Regions from separate parts of the Homo sapiens genome. Here region 1 is linked to region 2. Evidence: promoter capture Hi-C in human tissues and cell types (Jung and others, 2019). All regions are on one chromosome and are shown on one strand. The core of a region is centred on a gene start or on the middle of the fragment in contact, and the rest is flanking DNA. Distances in the headings are between cores, read along the strand shown. Region 1 has its middle 5.1 kb from the start of GSDMA. Region 2 holds the start of RAPGEFL1 (Rap guanine nucleotide exchange factor like 1).

Region 1 (5,449 bases), core at 68-2,567, 220 kb before region 2:
CACTTGTGGATGGGCAGTCTGAGGCCCAGAGAGCACACAAGACTTTAGGGCCACACAGCAGGCTCTTAGCAGAACTCTCTACAGAACTTAGGTCTCCGGATTCTTAATCCTTGCCCATCTCTGCTTCACTCTAGCATTAACAGACAGAGGGGGGATCAAGGATGGGGACTGTAATAAAATAGCTTGTTGAATAGCAAGAGAGGCTGGGTGCGGTGGCTCACACCTACAATCCCAGAACTTTGGGAGGCCGAGGCAGGAGGATTGCTTGAGGCCAAGAGTTCCACACCAGCTTGGGCAACATAGCCAGACCCCATCTCTATTTAATATAGGAAATAATAAAAAATAAAAAGTAAAAGAATGGCAGTGTGATGCCACCTTGAAGCAAAACTGCCATGGTGACTGGTATTGGATTCCTGATTCTGGCAGCAAAGTCCTTAAACAATGCCTGTAGCATAGATAACCCCTGTATTAGTCCATTCTCACACTGCTGTGAAGAAATACCTGAGACTGGGTAATTTATAAGGGAAAGACATTTAATTGACTCACAGTTCCACATTGCTGGGGAGGCCTCAGGAAACTTAAAATTATGGCGGAAAGGAAAAGAGAAGAAGACACCTTCACAGAGCAGCAGGACAGAGTGAATGCAAGCAGGGGAAATGCCAGATACTTATAAAACCATCAGATCTCATGAGACTCACTCATGATCATGAAAACAGCATAGGGGTAACCACCCCCATCACTCAATTACCTCCACCCGGTCCCACCCCCAACACATGGGGATTATGGTGATTATAATTCAAGATAAGATTTTGGGTGGGGGACACAGCGAAACCATACCAACCCGTCATAAAGCAACAATGCCTGTAACACAGATAATCCCTCATATAGATGTGTATCTAACCTCCCCAGTGGCCATGACTTTTGCAAGACAGTCTGAGCCATGACTGGCTGCACCTGTTTCACTCTAAAGGCTTGTTATAGAAAAGATATTTTCTGGACAGCAGGTGTGGGGAACCACTTTTGTTCATAAGTCCCTATTAAATGTTTCTTTCTAAGAAGCTGGATTTGTCAGCCTCTTTCTTTCTTTCTTTCTTTTCTTTCCTTTCTTTCCTTTCTTTCTTTCTTTCTTTCTTCTTTCTTTTTCTGAGACGAAGTCTCGCTGTTGTCCCCCAGGCTGGAGTACAATGGCGTGATCTCGGCTCACTGCAACTCCGCCTCCTGGGTTCAAGCGATTCTCCTACCTCAGCCTCCCAAATAGCTGGGATTACAGGCGTCTGCCACCACGCCCAGCTAATTTTTGTATTTTTAGTAGAGATGGGAGTTCACTATGCTGGCCAGGCTGGTCTCAAACTCCTGACCTCAAATAATCCGCCCGCCTCGGCCTCCCAAAGTGCTGGAATTACAGGCGTGAGCTACCACGTCTGGCCTGTCAGTCTCCTTCTTTGGCCTTTCGATTCCCTTGGCCTTTGGGGGTAGGTTTGCAGATATCTGCTCACTGCAGAACAGCGACAGGGGCTGAAATTTAAATTTTTACTGAAAATTAAAATTTAAAATTTTACTGCAGGCCAGGCATGGTGGCTCACACCTGTAATCCCAGCACTTAGGGAGGCCAAGGCAGACAGATCACCTGAGGTCAGGAGTTCGAGACCCATCTGGCCAACCTGGTGAAACCCCATCTCTACTAAAAATACAAAAATTAGCTGGGCATGGTGGTATGTTCCTGTACATACAGCTACTTGTGGGGCTGAGTCAGGAGACTTGCTTGAACCTGGGAGGCAGAGGCTGCAGTGAGCCGAGATCGTGCCACTGCACTCCAGCCTGGGCGATAGAGGAAGACTCTGTCTCAAAAATAGACAGACAGACAGACAGACAGACAGACAGATAATAAAATACAATTTTACTGCAGACCACTTCTGAAGTTGGTGGCTCCCTAAATGCAAAGCATCCTGTGATGCTTTTTCTCCACTGTGCAGATGGAAACCATCCTGGACTAGAATTTCTTTCAGGGAGAGATGGAGCCCTTCTGTCTTTACTTTGAGCTGCTCAGGGGGTTCTGAGGTGAGGAGCTGAAAGTGGTCAGGCCCTGATGGGACTCTGTGGCCTTGACATATAAGGAGACCAAGGAGACAGATCCTCCTTACACCTGGGAGCCAAATGCCTTGACACTGCTCTGTGTCCTGTAAGCCAGCCTCTCCATCTTTCGGGTGCTGGCCAACAACACTTGGCTCTCCAGATATTTTATTCATCAGGGATCCCCAGCCCTGCCCGCCCATGGCTAGGGAAGGCAGGATGGGGCTTGAGGACAAGCCTAGGGGAGCTGGTGAAAATACAGAATAGTGGCCGGGCGCGGTGGCTCATGCCTATAATCCCAGCACTTTGGAAGGCCGAGGTGGGTGGATCACCTGAGGTCAGGAGTTCGAGACCAGCCTGGCCAACATGGTGAAACCCCATCTATACTGAAAATGCAACAATTATTCGGGTGTGGTGTCGCGCATCTGCAATCCCAGCTACTCGGGAGGCTGAGGCAGGAGAATCGCTTGAACCCGGGGGGCGGAGTTTGCAGTGAGCCAAGATTGGCACTCCAGCCTGAACAACAAGAGCGAAACTCAATCTCAAAAAAAAAAGAAAGAAAAAGAAAAAAAAATACAGAAAAGCTCCAACACATGCTCCCGTGCATCAGCAGGGGCTCAGGAAGAGGTGGGTTGCTGGGAGGATCACCTGACAGAAGAGAGTTCTCTGGGTTTGGGCTGGAGGCTGGCAGTGGCCTCCTTGCCCAGACAGGGCTGATGGGTAGGGGGATTGGCAGTGGAGGGGTGGGGGCAGTGAGGGCTGACACCTTGAAGCTGGATGCTGAGTTTGACACACTTAGAGCTGAACACTGATGTCTGTTCAGCCAGAGTCTGGGGAGGTCTTGGACTCCAAAGCTGATTTGGGAATTTGGGAAGAAACATTAAAGCTTTTTAGAGAATAAGGAAAGAGTATGGGAGCTTTACTCTGTTCAGAAAGGAGAATTTATGGAAGTATAGCTCACAATCTATGATCTGCACCCCCAAACATCCAACCTCCCATATGAGAGATAAAACACAGCATCCCTAGGAAGCATTATTCCTGCGCCTCCACCAGGCAGTCATGCCCCAGCCCAGCCTGTCTTCATCCCTAACCATTACCATTCCACCTCCTTTTGTTCAGGGCAGGTCTGGGAATATGTTCATGTGAGGGATCACTTCTTGCAAATGCTCCAGTTATCCTGCACCCTTCAAGTAGGCTCCAAATCCTACAACATTCTCCTTGCCCTCCCAACTCGCAGGGTGCCAGCTTCTTCCCATTCTGGCCAGAGTTTGTGACTTCCATGAACGCCCATAATCTACTTTTCTCTGTTTTCTCTGACCCCATGCTGAGGGGGAAATCAACAATAATAAAAAGGAGGCCAGGCACAGTGGATCACACCTGTAATCCCAGCAATTTGGGAGGCCAAGGTGGGTGTATCACTTGAGGCCAGGAGTTCGAGACCAGCCTGGCCAATGTGGTGAAACTTTGCCTCTACTAAAAACACAAAAAATAGCCCGGTGTGGTGGTGCGCACCTGTAGTCCCAGGTACTCGGGAGGCTGAGGCAGGAGAATCACTTGAACCTGGGAGGCGGAGGTTGCAGTGAACCGAGATTGTGCCACTGCACTCCAGCCAGCAATAGTGTGAGGCTCGGTCTCAAAAAACAACAACAAAAACAATAACAAAAGGGAAAATGAGTAAGGAAATAATGCCCTGTCCCAATGACTGTGTCTGTCTGCAGTGCACTCTATGGGTCAGAGAGACAGCAATGGTCCCACGGGGCAGGTGCCTGGGGCTTCCTCTCCTAAATCAATTCTCTCTCCTGATCCCTGTCTCCTAACAACCCTACATAGTCACAAGCTTGGTCTCTAAATCAGAGGTGATCATTGTCCATCACTACCTTAATTGACCACCAGAGGGAGGTAGAGAGCAAAGTTTACCGCCTGCCTGAGCAGCACTCACCGCATGACCAGGTCCTGCTTCCTTATTGTCTCTTTTAATTGACCTGAAGCGTCCTTACAAGGCAGTCTAACTTAAATATCCGCCAGTACAATTTAAATTCTGCCCCAGGCCGGGCGCAGTGGCTCACGCCTGTAACCCCAGCACTTTGGGAGACCGAGGCAGGAGGACTGCTTGAGCCTAGGAGTTCAAGATCAGCCTGAGCAACATAGGGAGACTCCCTTCTCTACAAAAAATTAAAAAGTGAGCCAGGCATGGCCGGGCGCAGTGGCTCAAGCCTGTAATCCTAGCACTTTGGGAGGCCGAGGCGGGCAGATCACGAGGTCAGGAGATCGAGACCATCCTGGCTAACATGGTGAAACCCCGTCTTTACTAAAAATACAAAAAATTAGCCAAGCGTGGTGGTGCGTGCCTGTAATCCCAGCTATTTTGGAGGCTGAGGTAGGAGAATCGCTTGAACCCGGGAGGCGGAGGTTGCAGTGAGCCAATATTGTGCCATTGCACTCCAGCCTGGGCGATAAGAGCAAGACTCCATCTCAAAAAAAAAAAAAAAAAAGCCAGGTGTGGTGACACATGCCTATAGTTCCAGGTACTGGGAGCAGGGAGCGGGCACTGAGATGAGAGAATCCCTTTAGCCCAGGAAGTCAAGGCTGCAGTGAGCCATGACTGCACCACTGCACTCCAGCCTGGGCAACAGAGTGAGAACCTGTCTCAAAAAAAAAAAAAAACAGAAAGAAAGAAAGAAAAGAAAAAGACGCAGCTGGGCACGGTAGCTCACGCTTGTAATCCCAGCACCTTCAGAGGCCGAGGTGGGTGGATCACCTGAGGTCAGGAGTTCGAGACCAGCCTGGCGAACAGGGTTGAAACCCCGTCTTTACTAAAAATACAAAAATTAGTTGGGAGCGGTGGCATGTGCTTGTAACCCAGCTACTCGGGAGGCTGAGGTAGGAGAATTGCTTGAACCCAGGAGGCGGAGGTTGCAGTGAGCCGAGATTACACCACTGCCCTCCAGCCTGGGAGACAGAGTGAGGCTCCATCTCAAAAAAAAAAAAAAGAAAAGAAAGAAAAAGAGGCAGGGCACCCTGGATGGGAGGAAGGAGCACCACCAAGACAAGCCTAAATGTGGATATTTTCATTCCAAAAGCACAAGAACTTCAACCTGGCTGACCCCACAAGCCCATATATCTCCTCCCTGCCTTGAACTCACCAAGCCCCCTGCTTGGAATACCAGTAGGCAGTCTGAGGGAATGGGACAATGTGGTGCAGGCAGGGTCGGGACGACACCAGGAGTGTGAGGACAGGCCCGGCAGAGTGCTCTGAGATCAGACTGAAGGCGGGAGAAATGAGAGAAGCAAGACTTCCCGGTCAGAGGAGAGAAAGCTGACTAGATGGGCTTTGCAGGTCCTTGGGGAGAGCAGAGCCACGTGTGGCTTTTAGATGCCA
Region 2 (5,800 bases), core at 2,372-4,871:
GGTCTTGCTCTATTGCCCAGGCTGGAGTGCAATGGCACAATCGTGGCTCACTGCAGCTTTGACCACCTGGGCTCAATCAATCCACCCACCTCAGCCTCTCAAGTAGCTGAAACCACAAGCATGCACCACCACACCTAGCTAATTTATTTTTGTAGAGATAGGGTCATTGAATTCCTGGGCTCAAGTGATCCCGCTGTCTGGGCTTCCCAAAGTGCTGGGATTACAGGCTTGAGCTGCTGTGCCCAACTATTGTACATCTTATAAAGACAGATGGGACTTCCCCCATATCTTGGTGCTGGTGCCACAGCCAGAGGACTGTGACTTTTCTGAGCCCCGTCCCTAATTCCTTTTTTTTTTTTAGACTGAGTCTCACTCTGTCGCCCAGGCTGGAGTGCAGTGGCACGATCTCGGCTCACCACAACCTCCACCTCCCGGGTTTAAGCGATTCTCCTGCCTCAGCCTCCCAAGTAGCTGGGGTTTACAGGCGCCCGCCACCATGCCCCACTACTTTTTTTCTGTATTTTTAGTAGAGATGGGGTTTCACCATGTTGGCCAGGCTGGTCTCAAATTCCTGGCCTCAGGTGATTGGCTCAGCTTGGCCTCCCAAAGTTCTGGGATTACAGGCGTGAGCCACCACGCTGGGCCCCTAATTCCTCTTTAAATCATGTCAGTTTGCTTCTCTTCCCCACAATGTGATGGGTGACTGTAGGCCTGATCTCCTGGGGTTATGAAAAAATGCCATCCAGCCTTGGGGGTGGGTTACTGGCAGGAGGTTTGAGTGTTGGATGCTTCCCCTTTACCCTTGCCTCTTGCTTCCCTAGTCCTTCAGTTAGACCCTATTGCTCTCTCTGTTGCCCTGGTAACCAGCTCTGCAAGAAGAAACTCAAGCTCAGCAAAGCCCCCAGGTTCTCTCTATCCTCCCAGCCTGCCTCTGGGTGGGCAGAAAGAAGAGGGTGTGTAAGCAGCAGACAGATAGCCTGAGGTGGCCCTGCCCAGTCCCCTTGTAGAAGCCCATGGGCTCAAAAAAAGCTCAAAGCTTTTTCGCCCCCATCTCATAGTTGTTATTCATACCACCCTGCCTTCCTCTTTATTTCTTCCATAAGCGGGTGCAAATGCTCTGCCAGCTCTCTTCCCCTTCAGGGTCAGCGCACAGACCTGCTACCTTGTAGGCAACTCGGAGCACCAAAGACTTGGAATTCCAAAGTCAGCTCCCAGCATCTGCAGCCCACTTGGGTTGACTGTCCGTCTAGGGCAGTGATTTTCAATCCTGGCCATTTGTGTCATGTGAGGAGCTTTTTAAAAAATACCATAAGCCTTCGCCCTGGTTCAGAAATCTGATTTAATTGGTCTGAGATATGGCCTAGGCATCAGTTTTTTTTTTGTTTGTTTGTTTTTTTTTTTTTTGAGACAGTCTTGCTCTTGTTGCCCAGGCTGGAGTGCAGTGGCATGATCTCGGCTCACTGCAGCCTCCACCTCCCGGGTTCAAGCGATTCTCCTGCCTCAGCCTCCTGAGTAGCTGAGATTACAGGCACCAGCCACCATGCCCAGCAAATGTTTGTATTTTTAGTAGAGACAGGGTTTCACTATGTTGGCCAGACTGGTCTCGAACTTCTGACCTCATGTTGCACCCTTCTCGGCCTCCCAAAGTACCGGGATTATAGGCGTGAGCTGTTGCACTTGGCCAGTATTTTTTTTTTTTTTTTAATATGGAGTCTCTCACCCAGGCTGGAGTGCAGTGGCATGATAACAGCTCACTGCAACCTTCACCTCCCAGGTTCAAGCAATCCTTCTACCTCAGCCTCCAAAGTAGCTTGGATTACAGGTGTGTGCCACCATGCCCGGCTAATTTTTTTTGTATTTTTAGAAGTGGGGTTTCACCATGTTGGTCAGGCTGGTCTTGAACTCATGACCTCAAGTGATCTGCCCGCCTTGGCTTCCCAAAGTGTTGAGATTACAGGCGTGAGCCACCAAGCCCAGCCAGCATCAGTATTTCTGAGAAGCTTCCCTGTGATTCCAGTGTGTAGTCAGGGTGAAAACCACTGCCACTCCAGGAGGACCATGACTTGATGCTGGCTCTCCTCACTGATTCAAAATGTTGAACTTAGTCTCTGCCTGACATCCTTGAGCATTTGGGGGAGTACTGGGGTCCTGTGTCCCAAGCTTCTAGCTTCCAGAAGTCTCTCAGTCTGTTTTATTTTCAACCCCCTACACCCTTCACACTCCCCAATTCGCCCTTCCTAACCAACAATTCCCAAATCCTGCCCAGAGAGAAGGTTACCAAGGCAACCGGCTTAATCTGGTAACTGTGGCATGTGCTGGGAGAGAAGCCCTTCCCTCTTCCTATTCAGTTCATAAAATGCTACCTGGGGAGCTCCAACCCATTCCAGCCACTTTCCCCTTTCAAGCCAGGGGATATTGGAGTGTCCAATAAGGGGAGCACAGGAAGCTGATACTCAGACCTCTAATACAGCTTCTTAGCCAAAATTGTGCGCTGTCTTCTTTTTACTGTTTCCAAATCCACAAACAGATGGGTGTGCAAAGCTTTATTTCTGTGAACACATGCTCTAGCACACATGGGAACAGATATGCACATACATTGATACGTATGTCATACACACCCTGTTCAGTTTTACTACCACTCCCAGCCATTAGCATTCCTGTCTCTGCCTGGTTGGTGCTCGGTAAACAGGGGTGGGGCATTGTCCAGAGAGCCTCAACCCATCGAGAACCTGCTGCCACTCCCACACCTTGTAAGTCTAACCTGGATGTTCTCACACTTAGCATGGCTTTACGATGCACCCCCCTCCTCCCCCACACTCCTTCTGGGGCAGCATATCCTTAAGGACAGAATGCTCCTGGTGTGGGCATCAGGAGTAAGGATTACTTGGAGTGCTAATTGGCACCACTTTTCCCACTCCATGGCCATGTACACTTGGGCTCTGTGCTTGATGATAGTCGGCAGTTCTGGGGCTTGTCACCTGTCTCCATGGCCCTGCTTCCTTCTGCTGCCAGCTGGGCTCAGGTGCCCTTGTGCTCCTGGTCTCCTCCCCACTGCCTATTATCCCCTCCTCACCCCAGCTAGACCTGCCACAACCTGCTGCTCCCTGCCTGGCTCCTACCTGCCTGCCAGTACCTGCCCACAGACCAGGCCCACACCACCTATTGTGCCCTACCAGAGAGGACAGATGGGCACCGCCTCCAGTGGCAATGCTAATTCACCCAAGAGGCCTTCCCAGCTCTTCTCACAGAAGGAAGATAAACTCCACATATTTCTGTGAGTATGAGAAAGGTGCACACTCTTGGGTTCAGCAATCTGTAGGCCTGACTTGGGTACACAGGTAGGTGAGTGAAGGTGTCCAGGCCACAGACCTGTCCTGACTCTTTGAAATGATGCTGAGACCCGGTTATCCCTTGAGCCAGGAATCCTTCCCCATTGGTAAATCTCTGACTTACCTTTGCCCTTAATTTCTTCTGCTTAGAACCCAAGTCCCTTACTGTTTCCCTCGCGGTCAACCCCAGCGCGCGAGTTCAAGCCTCGTGCGGCGCGGGGGCGAGCCGAGGAAGGGTAGGGGCGGGGACTGGGCGGGGACTGGAGGAGGGGGCGCGGTCTCGGTTCTGCCACCTTCCCCCTCTTCACGGCCAGGAGCGCAGCCGCCGCCGCCGCCGCCGCCGCGTCCTCTCAGCCTTGCGCTCCGCCCGCTGCCTCTGCCGCCGCAGCGCAGAGCCGGGCGCACCGGCCCCGCAGCCTGCCCACTCTTCGGGCCGCGTGCCGGCTGCAGCCGGCATGGGGGGTTGCTGAGAGCGAGCACTCCTTTCCTCTGGCACCTCCCCCGGCTACTGGCCACTGGACTCTGGCCAGCGAGGCTCGGCCCCTCTGGCCCCCAGTCTGGCGCCTGGCACGGCCCTCTACTCTGCTCCTCCAGCTCTGAGCATCGTGTCTTCGCCGCCCCCCCCGCCCGCGCCTGGGATACCTGGGTCCCCCGGCGACCCCTAGGAGAGGGGCGGGGGGGGGCATGAAGCCGCTGGAGAAATTTCTGAAGAAGCAGACGTCGCAGCTGGCGGGCCGAACGGTGGCGGGAGGTCCCGGCGGGGGTCTGGGGAGCTGCGGTGGGCCTGGAGGGGGTGGGGGACCCGGCGGGGGCGGCGGTCCAGCCGGGGGACAGCGGTCGTTGCAGCGGCGTCAGAGCGTGTCTCGCCTGCTGCTCCCCGCTTTCCTCCGGGAGCCCCCCGCCGAGCCGGGGCTGGAGCCGCCCCCTGAGGAGGAAGGAGGAGAGCCGGCGGGGGTCGCGGAGGAGCCGGGCAGCGGGGGGCCCTGCTGGCTGCAGCTGGAGGAGGTGCCGGGGCCCGGGCCTCTCGGGGGAGGGGGGCCCCTGCGCTCCCCTTCCTCCTACTCATCTGACGAGCTGTCCCCAGGCGAGCCCTTGACTTCGCCGCCCTGGGCCCCTCTGGGCGCCCCCGAGCGGCCCGAGCATCTTCTGAACCGGGTTCTGGAGCGGCTTGCTGGAGGGGCTACCAGGGACAGCGCCGCCTCAGGTAAGGAGCCGGTGGGCTCGAACACCCAGAGCAGGGGCTGGCCCCGGCTCCTCTTCCTTGCCCTTGGAGCGTAGGGGTGGCGCCGTGCCGGGGCTTGGTTATAGGGTTGAGTGGTCCGCGGAAGCCGGCTAGGGGCCTAGCGGAGGTACAGACCCTCCCGCGGAAGAGGAGAGCAGTACTCACCTTCCTCCCTACAGCAGCCTCACCCTCGTCTGGAGAAGCAGCTGAGCCTCTTACTCTCCTTCAGCCACCCTTCCTTTCCCCTGGGCATTGGAGCCACTGACTCCCATGGGTCCCTGATGTTGAATACCTCCTCCTGTGGCCCCAAATTAGGGCCTGACACATTAAAATGGGAGCTGCCCAGCGCAGCCATGCCACCCGCCAGAGGTGCTTTAGCCCTGAAAACCCTGGGGTCCCTGACTGTTCAGAGGCCTACACAGCGCAGGCTGACCCACCCAGGGAGGCAGTGCCAGACAGGCACAGGCCCCAAGCTGCCTTTTAGGCATCAGCAAAGGGATGCGTTGTCCTTAGCAGTTTGGTGGGGGGGATAGTATTCTCCTTGGGCTGGACTCAGAAGGTGTCTGGGAGGGGAGAGGTGGCTGGGCCGGCATCATGGCCCTGCAGCATCCAGGGTGTCCAAGCGCCTCCAGCTTCCACCCTTCGGTGGCAGGCCTCAGCACCCGGCTTTTTTTTTTTTTTCTTTTGGAGATGTAGTCTCACTGTCACCCAGGCTGGAGTGCAGTGGCGCCATCTCAGCTCACTGCAACCTCCACCGCCCAGGTTCAAGCGATTCTCCTGCCTCAGCCTCCTGAGTAGCTGGGACTACAGGCATGTGGCACCACGCCTGGCTAATTTTTGTATTTTTAGTAGAGACAGGGGTTTCACCGTGTTAGCCAGGATGGTCTCGAACTCCTGACCTCGTGATCCACCTGCCTTGGCCTCCCAAAGTGCTGGGATTACAGGCGTGAGCCACTGGCCTGGCTAATTTTTGTAGTTTTAGTAGAGACGGGGTTTCGGGGTTTCACCAACTTGGTCAGGCTGGTCTTGAACTCCTGACCTCGTTATCTACCTCCCCCCACCCCCACCCCACGGCCTCCCAAAGTGCTGGGATTACAGGCGTGAGCCACCGGACCTGGCACACGGCCTCTTTAAAATATAATCACCACACCCTGAGAAGCTTATTCCCTAAATGATGATACTATTTCACCACTCCCTTTCAGCACCCCTACTAAGGGGCCTTTGAGGAAACCAAGGCCCCAAATCTGGT

The links. The method cuts DNA at HindIII sites, captures the fragments that hold promoters and counts their contacts. A contact is called where the count stands out against the background at its distance.
Region 1: a fragment that was not itself captured here is called in contact with the fragment with the promoter of RAPGEFL1 in region 2 in 1 of the 25 tissues and cell types used here (adrenal gland).

What each region holds. Positions count from the first base shown.
Region 1 is chr17:39,955,159-39,960,607 of GRCh38, forward strand. No RefSeq gene overlaps it. Among named protein-coding and RNA genes, the nearest start is that of GSDMA, 5.1 kb to the right of the region's middle. The HindIII fragment of the contact is 4,228 bases long and covers 1-3,431 here.
Region 2 is chr17:40,173,849-40,179,648 of GRCh38, forward strand. RAPGEFL1 (Rap guanine nucleotide exchange factor like 1) reads left to right here and starts at 3,622. Exons shown (of 15, transcript NM_016339.6): 1 at 3,622-4,533. The coding sequence starts at 4,014. RefSeq lists enhancers at 2,501-3,001, 3,002-3,502, 3,894-4,750, 4,751-5,605 and a silencer at 3,534-3,663. The HindIII fragment of the contact is 8,651 bases long and covers 2,351-5,800 here.